Regions from separate parts of the Homo sapiens genome. Here all the other regions are linked to region 1. The links are contacts of gene promoters, found by promoter capture Hi-C in blood cells and fetal thymus (Javierre and others, 2016). All regions are on one chromosome and are shown on one strand. The core of a region is centred on a gene start or on the middle of the fragment in contact, and the rest is flanking DNA. Distances in the headings are between cores, read along the strand shown.

The links. The method cuts DNA at HindIII sites, captures the fragments that hold promoters and counts their contacts. A CHiCAGO score of 5 or more calls a contact.
Region 2: a fragment that was not itself captured here is called in contact with the fragment with the promoter of RPRM in region 1 in 6 of 17 cell types (total CD4 T cells, naive CD8 T cells, non-activated CD4 T cells and 3 more); the score reaches 10.8 in total CD4 T cells.
Region 3: a fragment that was not itself captured here is called in contact with the fragment with the promoter of RPRM in region 1 in 1 of 17 cell types (M2 macrophages); the score reaches 5.5 in M2 macrophages.
Region 4: the fragment with the promoter of STAM2 here is called in contact with the fragment with the promoter of RPRM in region 1 in 1 of 17 cell types (naive CD8 T cells); the score reaches 9.1 in naive CD8 T cells.

What each region holds. Positions count from the first base shown.
Region 1 is chr2:153,477,333-153,480,492 of GRCh38, reverse strand. RPRM (reprimo, TP53 dependent G2 arrest mediator homolog) reads left to right here and starts at 1,731. Exons shown (of 1, transcript NM_019845.3): 1 at 1,731-3,155. The coding sequence starts at 1,928. The coding sequence ends at 2,257. It also overlaps a transcript of GALNT13 not described here. RefSeq lists a silencer at 1,497-1,696 and enhancers at 2,053-2,556, 2,557-3,060, 3,061-3,160. The HindIII fragment of the contact is 6,762 bases long and covers 1-3,160 here.
Region 2 is chr2:152,030,070-152,033,275 of GRCh38, reverse strand. The region is part of intron 2 of CACNB4 (calcium voltage-gated channel auxiliary subunit beta 4); the gene reads left to right. Among named protein-coding and RNA genes, the nearest start is that of CACNB4, 67 kb to the left of the region's middle. The HindIII fragment of the contact is 4,901 bases long and covers 1-3,206 here.
Region 3 is chr2:155,306,029-155,309,118 of GRCh38, reverse strand. No RefSeq gene overlaps it. Among named protein-coding and RNA genes, the nearest start is that of KCNJ3, 610 kb to the right of the region's middle. The HindIII fragment of the contact is 371 bases long and covers 1,241-1,611 here.
Region 4 is chr2:152,174,242-152,177,668 of GRCh38, reverse strand. It overlaps STAM2 (signal transducing adaptor molecule 2), which reads left to right and starts at 1,906. Exons shown (of 14, transcript NM_005843.6): 1 at 1,906-2,066. The coding sequence starts at 2,027. It overlaps LOC105373689 (a long non-coding RNA gene), which reads right to left and starts at 2,136. Exons shown (of 3, transcript XR_923477.3): 1 at 1,112-2,136. RefSeq lists enhancers at 1,549-1,968, 1,445-1,968, 2,129-2,268, 2,319-2,368. The HindIII fragment of the contact is 5,938 bases long and covers 1-3,427 here.

The sequences.
Region 1 (3,160 bases), core at 482-2,981:
GAACAATAAGCCAGTGAATTGTGGTAGAAGCCCAAGCCTGAATTTTCAGCTGTTAAACATCCCCCTCAAAATAATAATAGCTATTTTAAAAAATCAAACTTATTGCAGCTGATATACCATAAATATCAAAAAATTGAAAACTCAACCAGAAGGCATTTCATTCTATTTTATGATAGTCATGAAGCAGTGCAAAAACATTTAAGGAACACTCTGAAGATGGAATAAATGATGTTTTAAGAAACAGAAATAAGAGGATTTACCAAGCAAACAGAATGAAATTAAGAGTAGAGTTGAAAATGGCAAGACAGCTACTATTTTTCAGTTTTATTTTATTTTTAATTGACAACTGTACATATTTATGAGGTACAAAGTGATATTTTGATACACATATACATGTGGAATGATCAAATCAGAGTAATTAGCGTACCCATTATCTCAAATTTTTATCAGTTCTTTGTGGTGAGAACATTTAATAGAAAGTAAATGTATTCTATTGGAAGCTCAAGTTACTGGTTTCCAGCTGTTACAGCTGAAAGAAAGAGGGAGGAAGGCAGGGAGTAATGGGGAAAAGGAGGGAGGGGAAAGAAAACAGAAAAGGGGGAGCGGGAACATGCAATATTCTTTCAGAGTTAAGAAACTTAATCTGACAGGTTTATAGAATTTCGTTGGAACCTAGAGCAAAATCACAATGGCTGAAGCGTCAATCAGGCCTATAAAAACATCTGTGTTTAGTTTAAATGACTAAGGGTGAAATACATCAGCTTATGGAAAATGGGGAGGGCTCCCAGTATTTGGCCAGCGTTCTAGGTGATGGATGTTGATGAGCAATTCCCTTCAACAACTGATTTACTGCCAACGGACAAAATGCTGGAAGCACATCCAAAAACTTATCTGCAATTAAAATTACAAGCAAGTGGTCACTCTGTTCACCTCCTTTACCAGAGAGGTGACCCTGCTCCCGGCAACTACCTCCACCCAAGGGCCACAGAAGAACTCCTCCTTCCTCTAACCCTCTTTCCTTGGCCTCAAACCTCACGGTAAAACCTGCCTTGCTCTGTCTCCCAATCGCTTTTGTAAAGGAAGCTGGGTGTAGAGCTCTTCTTTCTCCCTCCCTTCCTTTTTTCTTTCCTTCCTTCCTTTCTTCCTTCCTTCTTCCATGCCTTTCTGTCTTTCCAAATTCATTGCTTTGTAAGAAACATTCTCAGATCACCTCCACTCCACTAGAAATCCAACGCAGGCGAGTCGGAGTCAAGCACAGGCAGTGGGCGGGTGGCCTCAGCCGGCACCATCTGGCACCTGCGATTCATCGCCACTTTCCATTCGCCCAGAGGTCAGGGGGGCAGCAGGCAAAGGACACGCAGAGCTCGTGTGTCCCAGTTCCTCTGAAACTTTCAGCTGACCGCACCCTCCCCCGACAAACTCTTTAATCATCCATCAAGCTAGAAGAGTACAGTGACCTCTGCCTGGCCTTTGGAGTTTGCAAAAGAAGCAAGCAATAAAAAGCAAGACCAGGTTCGCCCCTTTGCTTCCTCCACCTCCCAAGAGCAGCGCGCAGCGCGGCGGTGCGGCCGGAAGGGGCCGCTGTTTGCTCAGCGCAGCCACCCCGCCGCTGCAGCCGCCGCGGCCCGCACCTCCCACGGCCGGGCTGGTCCAGCCCCGCCAAGTTCCAACAGCCCCCCCTCGAGCGAGCGCCGGGAACGAGCACCACCAGGGCTGGAGCGGACGGCTTTAGAAGAGCCTAGCTGCTGCGCGCGTCGGAGAGGCTCCTGGGAAACTCCCACGGCCCAGGGACTTTCGAAAGCAGAGCGAGGAGCCCTCGCACGCGCTAGTCTGCGAGTGAGCGCTCAGCCCGGCACCTGTTCCTCCAGCGCCGCCGCCTTCCCACCCCTCGGACCCGCGCCGCTCGCGGCGCCCGCCCGTTCCTGCGATGAATCCGGCCCTAGGCAACCAGACGGACGTGGCGGGCCTGTTCCTGGCCAACAGCAGCGAGGCGCTGGAGCGAGCCGTGCGCTGCTGCACCCAGGCGTCCGTGGTGACCGACGACGGCTTCGCGGAGGGAGGCCCGGACGAGCGTAGCCTGTACATAATGCGCGTGGTGCAGATCGCGGTCATGTGCGTGCTCTCACTCACCGTGGTCTTCGGCATCTTCTTCCTCGGCTGCAATCTGCTCATCAAGTCCGAGGGCATGATCAACTTCCTCGTGAAGGACCGGAGGCCGTCTAAGGAGGTGGAGGCGGTGGTCGTGGGGCCCTACTGACCCGCCCTCTGCCCCCGCGGCAACCGCTCCCACGCCTGCCCACTTTGCTAGCCCGGCTGTGCCCCTCACTATCAGAGACTGGGCGAAGCAAACCTGTCGGAGTCAATTATTTCTCTCGACTTCGGCCTTTCGGAAAGAAGCGACCGGTTTCTCCCTCGCCCTCTGAAAGTCCTCATGCCTGGCAGTCGGAGGAGAGCGCCCAGACTCTGAACTCAGCAGAAAGTGGCAAGAAGAGGGCGATTAGGGCGCAGAACTTTGGAAGCTGCTACTTACTTGGAATGCGGGGAGACCGACGGTGCGAAGGCCCTTCTCCACCCGCAGGTGGGCCAAGCTCTGGGGGCAGGTGGAGAGGGCGGGCAGGGGAGAGACCCAGCGGCACTGATCGCCTTGTGACCGGAAGAGTGACCTGTTAAAAGCCACGCAGCAGACTCATGGGGTCTCACAAATCCGTGTCCGGGTGCGCTCCCACTCTTCTCCTGCTCCCCCCCTGCCCTGGAGGGGAGGGGCGATAAATACCTTTGATTGTAACGTGCCGTTTTAAGAGGTTTTGTGTTTGTTTGCTTGAATACAAATGTTTGATAAGTCTTTTTCTGCCCCAGTGGCCTGTTTGCCTGCCTGAGGAGTTACAGTTTTGTCATTGTGGGAGAAGGGGTGGGGGGAGGGGGAGCCTGCGAATTTGAACGGGGTGAGTTGTTTCTTTTAGTGCATTTCCCACTGGGTCTTTTGGGAGGCGTCTAGCGTTCCTGCTGGCCCTGGGACAAAGACCCAGAATAGAACTCGTAGCTCGTGACTGCACGGTTTACGCCACAAAAGTGCTCTTGACATCCGTGACACCGTTTTGACTTTTTGTTTTTTTCTTATTTAACATTTCCTTAATAAATGCAACATTTAAGCGTTTTGTTC
Region 2 (3,206 bases), core at 675-3,174, 1.4 Mb after region 1:
TCATTTGCTTCAGCAAGTCAAAAGCTGCCCTTTTGTAAAAACGTGTAAGCATGCCTCTTCATCCTCATTCCCCCACCCCGCTTCTCCTCATTCATTATTTAACCAGCCGCCTGGGTCTTCTTTCTGCTCTCAAGCATGCCAGTCCCTTCCCCACCTGGGGACCTTGGCCCTGTCTGTTCCTCTTGTTTGGCATGCTGTTCTCCAGGGCCTTGCCTGGCTGCCACTGCCTCACTTAGGCCTGAAGCAGAACCTCTGCAGGGGAACCTGTCTACACCAAACTAGTTCATTTTTCTACCTTTTTATTTATTTATTTTTTTTTTAAGAGACAGGGTCTTGCTCTATTGCCCGGGCTGGAGTGCAGTGGCATAATCATAGCTCACTGCAGCCTTGAACTCCAGGGCTTAATCAATTCTCTTGCCTCAGTCTCCTGAGTAGCCAGGACTATAGGCGTATGCCAACATACCCAGCTAATTTTTTTGTTTTTGTAGAGATGGGGGGTCTCACTATATTGCCCTGGGTGGTCTTGAAGTAATCTTCCTGCCTCAACCTCCCAAAGTGCTGAGATTATAGGCATGAGCCACCACACCCTGCCTAAAAAATCTTTTTAAGATGGAAACATATAAAGTATATTGAGACTTTCTTTGGAGAGAGAAAATGCATTAAGCAAAAAAGCATTTAGATTTTTTTGAATTCCCTATTATTAAAAATAAAGTTGTATTAAAATGTCTCGGTAATATATGGTTAAACCATAGTCTCTATTTGTGTTTTTTAAGGAATTTGTAATTAATTGTGGCTTTCTTAAAATCATGACCGACTGAGTTAGATGTGCCACCATCAATAGTTGATAGCTAAAATTAGTAGCAAGTTAACAATTTACTTGTTCATTTCCATGGGCTGCTAAGTAGATTTTGGTCCAATGTATTTTAGGGGAAAAAATGTTACACTGAGAGTCAGGAGACATGGCTGTTGCCCCTTCCTGGCTGTGTGGCCTGGGTCAGTCCCTTCCCTTCTCAGGCCAATTTCTTATCCGTGGAGCAAAGATAATGGACGGGGGGAAGGGGATTCCTTCCAGCTCTCCACAGTCTCTGGTTCTATATTTTGAAGCCATCTGTGGGGCAGTTTTAACAGAAGGTCTGAAAAAATCAGACTTGGTCATGTGCCTCCTATTCCTTTTTTCTCTCTCTCTATTTGCCACATCCTTTCCCCACACTATAGAAGGATCCAGACACTCGAATCATCAAGGCTCTGTTGCTCTCCGCTCTTGCCTGAATATGAAATGAGGGAGTTTGCTGTCCCCTGATGGAGCCTTCGTTCAAGCAAGCCACGGGCTGTGAGGCTTTCACCCTTGGCTTGGCAAGACTGTCAGCACGGTGCTTCCCTTTTAGAGAGCCTAATGCCAACAGAAAGGGCAGTTTTCTAGTAATGGAGGAAAATATCAGTTTTCAAAAATATGGATAATTTTTAAAACCTCCTCTTTTTCCTGTTGCCTAGTTCTCTACCATTAACTCCAGGTCTCTCTTCAGGGTCTAGCAGAGACCCTGCTGACTGTCCTCTCACTCCTTAGAGGCCATCAGGACTCTGAAATCCGAGGATTAATGGCGGCCGGGAGGGGCTGATGGGCAGGGGAGAAAGCCTAGGATTAAGGATGAGGAGACCTGAGCTCCATCTGTGGATCCTCCTCTGCCTGGTCCCAGGCCTTTGAGCAAGCCCCTGGCTGTGTCTGACCTGCCTTCCTCCCTCAGGTTGTGCTGCAGAGGGGCCACAGTACAGATAACACAGCACCCGTCAACAGTGGGATATTAGGAGGAGAAGAAGTCTCCGCTCACCTGCGTGTGCTCTCTCATCCTCAGAGTCCCATGTTTCCAGTTTCTGGAAGGTCCTCCTACCAGCCTGAACTACATGCATTGTATAACACGTAACTGCAATTTAAATCTTGATTTACCCTCAGAGTCTTATTCGGTCATTAAGTCATCATCATAATATCTTGTACCTGTTACTTGTTCAGATTTAATAATTTGTGAAGTGTCCTTTGTGGGGTGACCAACAGTCCTGGGGACTGAGGGGTTTCCCAGGATGTACAATATTAGGTGCTAAAACTGAAAGAGTTCTGGGCACATCAGGATGATGGTCATTCTTCTCTTGGTTCCTCTTTTTCTTTCTGGAAGGAAGTTTCTCTGTAAATTGTTATTTCTTCATCTGTAAAATATCTTGCTAGTCCCGTGGCAATACCGCCTGTCTACCCCAAGTACCCTTTCTCCTGGACTGCTTGTATCCACTTCCCTGTTACTGCTGTGTTTTCTGCCCAGGGCTGAGGCTGTGCAGTGAATGAATCATCTTTCCCCAACCTTGCTTGACATCAGTATCAATTTTAGAAGGTGAGAGTGCCACATTTTCTTAATCCAGTCTATCATTGATGGACATTTGGGTTGGTTCCAACTGGATTAAGAAAATGTGGCACATATACACCATGGAATACTATGCAGCCATAAAAAAGGATGAGTTCACGTCCTTTGTAGGGACATGGAGGCAGCTGGAAACCATCATTCTCAGCAAACTATTGCAGGGACAGAAAACCAAACACTGCATGTTCTCACTCATAGGTGGGAATTGAACAATGAGAACACTTGGACACAGGAAGGGGAACATCACACACTGGGGCCTGTCAAGTGGGGAGGGATAGCATTAGGAGATATACCTAATGTAAATGACAAGTTAATGGGTGCAGCACACCAACATGGCACATGTATACATATGTAACAAACCTGCACGTTGTGCACATGTACCCTAGAACTTAAAGTATAAGAAAAATAAATAAATACATAAAATTCTTTTCAATAACAATGGAAACAAAATTTTCTAAAATTATGAGATCATATCTGTAAAAATTAATGATGATCTTGTGTAAAATTTCATCTATACATAGTGAATTATACTATTAATATTGATGAAAAAATGTAAACATAAATCTAGTGTCTTATAAGCATGAAAAATGTCCAAGTATTTTCAATGTTGTGTTTCTTTTGTCTTAACAAACATGTCCTACAGTGTTATTTGACTATGTGTGAATTTTATTTTTTCAAGACTGTGTTAATATAATCCTCAAACTATTTTAGAAGCAACTAAATAGTGAATAAAGTGAAGAGTAGAAATGTAATCAGAAAAAAAAAAGAAGGTAAGAGTGCTCACAATTGCCTCAAAAAGAAAAT
Region 3 (3,090 bases), core at 177-2,676, 1.8 Mb before region 1:
CACTTGTTGGAATAAATGCTGGGCAAGACAATCAATATTATTTTCCATATAAGTAGTAGTCCTCCAAGTGGGGTGGGATTTTACATTCTTTTGTCTTACAAATATTTATTTCTTATATGTTCCAGGTAGTCTTCCAGGTGCTAAACATACAATGGTGAATGAAATTGAATTATATTGCACATAATATTAGATAATAGGGTAGATTAATTACAAAATGGCTCTAATCTTTCACCCAATGCTTCAAAGATAGTGTGACTTTAAAGCTCTTCCTTTAAGGAAGTGGAATCTATTTCTCATTTCTTGACTCTTGGCTGTCCTGTGAACTGCTTTGGCAAATAGATATAGTGAAAGTGATGTGTGGGTTTCAGACTTAGGCCTCAAGATTCCCTGTGTGCTTCTGCCCTTTCTCAGAACCCTGGCACTTCCATGAAGAGAAAGCTAGGATAAGACTATCCTAGGCTCCATGATAAGAGACCATTTGGTAAAGCAGCAAGTCATCCCAACCCTTCTGATGAAGCCATACTAGAGCAGATATTAGTCAGCCCACTCGCAAACATATTAGAGAGCTGAGCAAATATTAGCAGAACTACAGACCTCTATCTAACCTAAGATACATATTTGAGCCCAGGCAAGACAGTAAAACCTGCCCAACCAACTTTAGATGTGACTTTGAAGTGGTTTTCTTACACTGCAAAAACTGATACAGATGGTATACTTTCTTTCAGAAAATATGTATTAGTAAAAGAAATATATATAAAATACTTTTATTTAGAATTGGTTTTATATAGAATATATACAATATATAAAATGCTTGTGTATGCAAATAGATGAAAACATGTTGGAGAATATTTCGCTGATGTAATAATTTAAGGAAAATGGGGAAGATGTGTAAAAATTAAAAGATATTTGCTAAAGATTAATGAGTGAATAATGCAATTAACTAACTTTATTTTAAGCATTATAAAATTAATATTAAGGAAAAGTATAATAATAATATACATTTTTATATGGATAGAAGTTTTCTTTAAATAAAAAGACTATGAATCCCTTGTATTGACTTAAAGAAAACTATTTTCTCAGCAGTAGACAAGGATCTCCTGAGAGAGCTATTCTGCCCTTAATTTCCGCCAATATGAACATTTATTTGGGAATGTTTAAATCAGAAAAAAACTTGAAATAAAGTGAATTTTGGAATTAATATTATTGGTGTCAGGGAATATTTGGCCCCATTTAATAAGCTTCTTAGCTTTGGAATTATAGAAAAATGCTCAAAACAACAAAAAAATTCACATGAACCATGGAATGAAATTCAAATAAGAGAAATGACTCCAGTTAGGTAGTAGGATTCTAAGAAATAAAATTTCATTATAAGTAATTTTGCTAATCACTATTAAAGGTGATGATGTAATTCTGATCTAGACATAAAACACAGCAAAAAGACTTTCAGTCTCAACTTCAGTCTTACTGCAACTTCCAGAATAAAAATTGCTAAAATATTTTCTCTTTGCTGTGAGGTTCTTAAATGTTGTGACACATGTGTTCTCTATTTTTCAGGGGCATAAAGAGGGGAGCTTACTGCTAACTGCTTCCTAGAATATTTGGGAATAAGCTTGTACTCTTGTATTTTTTCTACTACCCCAGGATTTCCCATCGTGAGGTAGGCTATGGTTTGTGTATACAAATAAGAGGTAGTATTTCTGAGACATGTGAGTCCCTCTTAGTCTATATGACTCCACTAGACATTATCCTTGTTAGAATATTCTATATTAGAATTATGGAATAGTAGACCTAGAAATAATTTTAAGGATATGCTAATCTCAGGTCTTCACGTAAAACAAAGGCCTTTAACTTTTTCTATAATATATAGATAGTGTGTGTATATGTACACCAAGATTTTATTCTTTGGTTACTTAAATATGTGATTTGCAGAATTATTTTTAACAGCGTGTTCGTATAATGATTTAAGTGGAAGAGTAAAATATAGTTTTATATGTACATTTTCTTTTAGTTGTTTATCATTTCTTTTTTACAACAAATTTCTACTGAGCACTAAATTTGGTTATCATGGCAGTGACAGATGGAAAAGAGGCATTCCCTAGCTAATTACAAAGGCTGTCCAGGTGCAGCAGCCAGAGCCATAAGAAACAGACAGCTGTACACTTTACTCATCTGTCAGGAATATTAATAGAGGTAACAAAATATGTTTATATAAAACAAGGGTATAACTGAGCTATAACAAATATCAGTATTTCCCCTCTGAGTGGCACTCCAGGATGACATGTCATAGAAAACTGACAAATGATTTCTGCTCACCTTTCTATATTATTAACCTGTACCTCTTATTTGGTTCCTCTGTGCTAGAGCCAAATCTTATGTAACTGGAATAATTGGGGAATAGTTTAATCTGATTAGTTTAAAATACATTTCAAGCATCATATTTCCAAGAATTTGTATTCTTAACATATTTCAAATTAAAATGTTTCAGAATGTATTATTTTATACAGTTTGTAAACAAAATAGAGAAATTAACTGATCTTATCTGATTCAGTAATTATAATTTGTTGTGTTTCTGATCAACTTCACATTTAGTAATTTAAACTTTTGAAAATAAAAATTATAACTTGTATGGTCAGTTATCTAATCTCGCTGAAATGTAGGAAGAAAATGATTTCATGTTTTTAAGAGACTTAATTTCTGAGCAGTATAATTTATTTTTATATAATTTTTGTTATCATTTTCTTTATATTTTGATGGCATAGAATAAGAAAATGTCAAATATGACTTTGCCTACACTATTTTATTATTTTGAAAGTAAAGATAAGTATTTCATATGGTGAGAAACTCATCTTTATTTAGCAGTATTTTCATTTTCACAATAACACTGAATACAAAAGTAAAGATGCTTTCCAGAATACATATAGAAGTCTCTTTTCATCTTCAGTAGAAAAAAATATGCCCAGTATGGTCAAACTGTAAAAAATTCTAAATAAATTTTTTTTTCTGAAATTCAGCAACATTTTTTATAAACAAGTAAGTGGATACTAAAGGTGGTAGTAAATAAAGACTTTTAAAAATGACCTATCTTAGAGA
Region 4 (3,427 bases), core at 657-3,156, 1.3 Mb after region 1:
AACCCAGGAGGCGGAGCTTGCAGTGAGCCCAAATCGCGCCACTGCACTCCAGTCTGGGTAACAGAGTGAGACTCCATCTCAAAAAAAATTTTTTTTTACTATTCTGCTACCCAATATCCTTAAATAATTATTGAGTGCCTTAATCAAAATAAAAAATTCCCAGCTTGCCCTTTAAAATTCTTGTCAATCTGTTTCCTCTTATACCTAGTCAGCCTTGTTTTCCATTCCAACACTAAGTCTTAGACAAAAAGTCTTTATCTGTCCAAAAAATCTCTAAGTCTTTTTTTTTTTTCTTTTTTCGAGACAGAGTCTTGCTCTGTTGCCCAGGCTGGAGTGCAGTTGCCTGATCTTGGCTCACTGTAACCTCTGCCTCCTGGGCTCAAGTGATTCTCGTGCCTCAGCCTCCCAAGAAGTTGGCATTACAGGCTTGCGCCACCATGCCTGGCTAATTTTTGTATTTTTAGTAGAGACGGTTTTTCGCCATGTTAGCCAGTCTGGTCTTGAACTCCTGGCCTCAAGCAGTCTGCCCGCCTTGGCCTCCCAAAGTGCTGGGATTACATGCGTGAGCCACCATGCCCGGCCTCCCAATTTATCTTGAACATCCCTAGGTTCAACGTTCTATGAAAAACAGCCCCTTCTGCACGATTCCTTCTCATTTGTGCCCCGAACTTTATAAAATGCAACCACCTTTCTGAATGTGTATGAGCTCTCTATAGCATCAGGTCTTTATACTAGAGTTTGTAAAATGGTTTTGATTAATCTATTATTTAAAATGTTGGAGTAATTCTCAACATTTAAACATCATTGAAAAATTGCAAACTCTAGTAGGACCCACATTTCAATAAATGGCTGCAATTTACCAGTAGTTGACATCTTTAGATACGCACTGTTCAGTTAGAAAGTTACAGCTTCATTCGAAAAGCATTGAGCGTCTATTACTTGGGACACTGTTTTAGACGCTGGGGATATAGTAGTGACCAAAACTTATCAGGGAGTTTATAATCTAATGAGGAGGAGAGACAGGCAACATAATCATTACTACAGTTTTCTAAGAGGAACAGAGAATATGTGGGTGGGAAGGGTGCTTGGGCTTTTGCATTCATTTAAATACCTGGCTGGATGCTGTTGGAATTTGAGTTTATGACTCGTACTACCATCCGAATCGTCATACACCATCATGTACGTTATGCACTGCCCCTATAAAACTCTCAACAAGTCTAAGGCAGGGAGTGTGCCTCCTTCGCCTTTGGATTCCGGGGGCCCAGCAGTGTTTTTATGGAGGGGACACGATGGAAAGCGAAAAGTTAGGCGTAGTTACTTCGACCACCGCTGTCCCGGGTGGTTATTCTGACGGGGTTTGGACTGGGCGCCTGGGAGGGTGCAACACAATAATTGTTGAAGAGCAGTCAGGTCTTTCGCAGAATCTCAAAGCCACCTCCGCGCCGGCAGCTCCGTTTCTAGGGAAACAGGACTGTAACGCGTACGCGTCGTGGGTCCTCGTTCTCTAGCTACGAGTCCTGCCGCTCTGAAACAAACTAAATTCGTGACAAGAACTTGGCCCTCAGAGCCCGTCGTCCAACGCGAAAAACCACGGGTAACCGCGCCCCCTGCCGCGCCGCCGCTGGCACTGCAGCTTCCGGGGTCGTCCAGTTCCAGGCGGGACTACTTCCGGCTCCGAAGGTCCCCGGCTTCGTGGCTAGCCGGGGTCCTAGCGCTGGAAAGGTGGCCGTAGCGGCCGCCTGACCCCTACAAAAGTCTGGGACAGGGGCAGCGACAAAGGCCTTGGGAGGACGCCCATGGTCGGAGGGATCTCGCCCCGGGAGAAAAGTTGGGACAGGAGCGCGGGATCGAAGGGTGGACTCCGAGCCGGCCTGTCAGGCAAGAGCCGGGCAGGTGCGGTGGCGGAAGTGCAGGGACGGAGGCCGAAGCGGAGCGGTCTAGGGAGCCGCGGCCGCGGGTCACCCGGCGGGTAGCAGTTGCTGAGTGTCAGCTAGACAGCAGCGACTAGGGCTCGGGCGCCGGCGAGATGCCTTTGTTCACCGCCAACCCCTTCGAGCAAGACGTGGGTGAGTGCTGTGCCCGGTCCTGGACTGCTGTGTGCCTGGCCCTGGACTGCTGTTTGTCCGGCTAGAAAGTGGGCGGTAGCGACTCCGGGGACTAGGAAGCAAAGCGAAGGGAGGGGAGGGGCGGTGCCGCCCGCTCCTTCGACGTTGGGATTTTTCTGGGGCAACCTCGGCGCGTCGCTAGCGGTCTGGGGAGTGCTTCCTGCCGCCTGAGTTTGGGGACCCTCAAAGGGCCGTTCTCCTTGCCAAGCGTAGGATTTGGGAAGAGCCTAGGGCTCGCTGGAGACTGGACTGATTAAGTAGTTGTGGAGTTGGTGATTAAAAACTTCCTGCTCGTTCGACAGCTGGTTACCTCCGTCTTTGCCCCATCGTTTTCTGAAGATGATGCAGCAGTGGAGACCCTGCTGTCTAGAGAAGCCCAACACTAGACACTTGACACCTAGACAACCGCATTGAATAGGAAGAACTTACTTCCCCATTATTTATATTACTCATGCATTCAATCCCTGATAGGGTAGCTTTAAGATTTATTACAATTGTAAAGGTGTTGCTCTTCATCCCCGGATTGCAAAGATTGCGCGGGTGCTAGGAGATGTTCGGTTTTAGAGTATGAAAAGGAAATCTCCAGTCTCAAAACACTCCAGAACAACAAGTATTTTACATGTTGCAGTCATAAAGCGCTGGTCTCTCAGTGACTATAGAATGAGAAAAACATGGATAAGATATATACGAAATTATTTAGGAAATTTGAGTAACACTAAAACAAACTGAGAAATATATGTATGTATTCTCGAAAGTCTGGGTCTCACTATGTTGCCCAGGTGCGACTAGAATTCCTCCCACCTCAGCCTCCACCTCCGTTTCCCCTTCCCGAGTAGCTGGGACTACAGGTTTGTTTTTTGTTTGTTTTTGTAGCAGTAGTTAACAGAACCCTAGGTAAATTTTTAGAACTTGGAAATGGGGTTGGGGCGGGGAGACTCAGAAGAATACTGCACATCTCAGCAGTAATTCCCCTGTTTCATAGTTAACATTTGGTTATTAGGAGACTGTAGAAAGTGCCCTATTCTGATACGTTGTGTAATCCCCTAAGCCATTTTAAAAAACATGTTTGAGTCAAATAATATATGTAAATAGTTCAAATATGTATGTTCCTTACTTCATTAAACTTTTTTTTTGGTGGATGAATACAGGTGACTGGCGTAAATCTGGGAAACATCACTCTTAAGGCTCACTGTTTCCTTTTGGAACGCCTCATTGCAGTATTCTTTTGTTTGAATCATACAACCTTTGTGCAACCTGTACTTTTAAAAAATTGCTATTATGAACACTTTGATTCTGTTCTAATGAAATAAAACAGAAGGCGC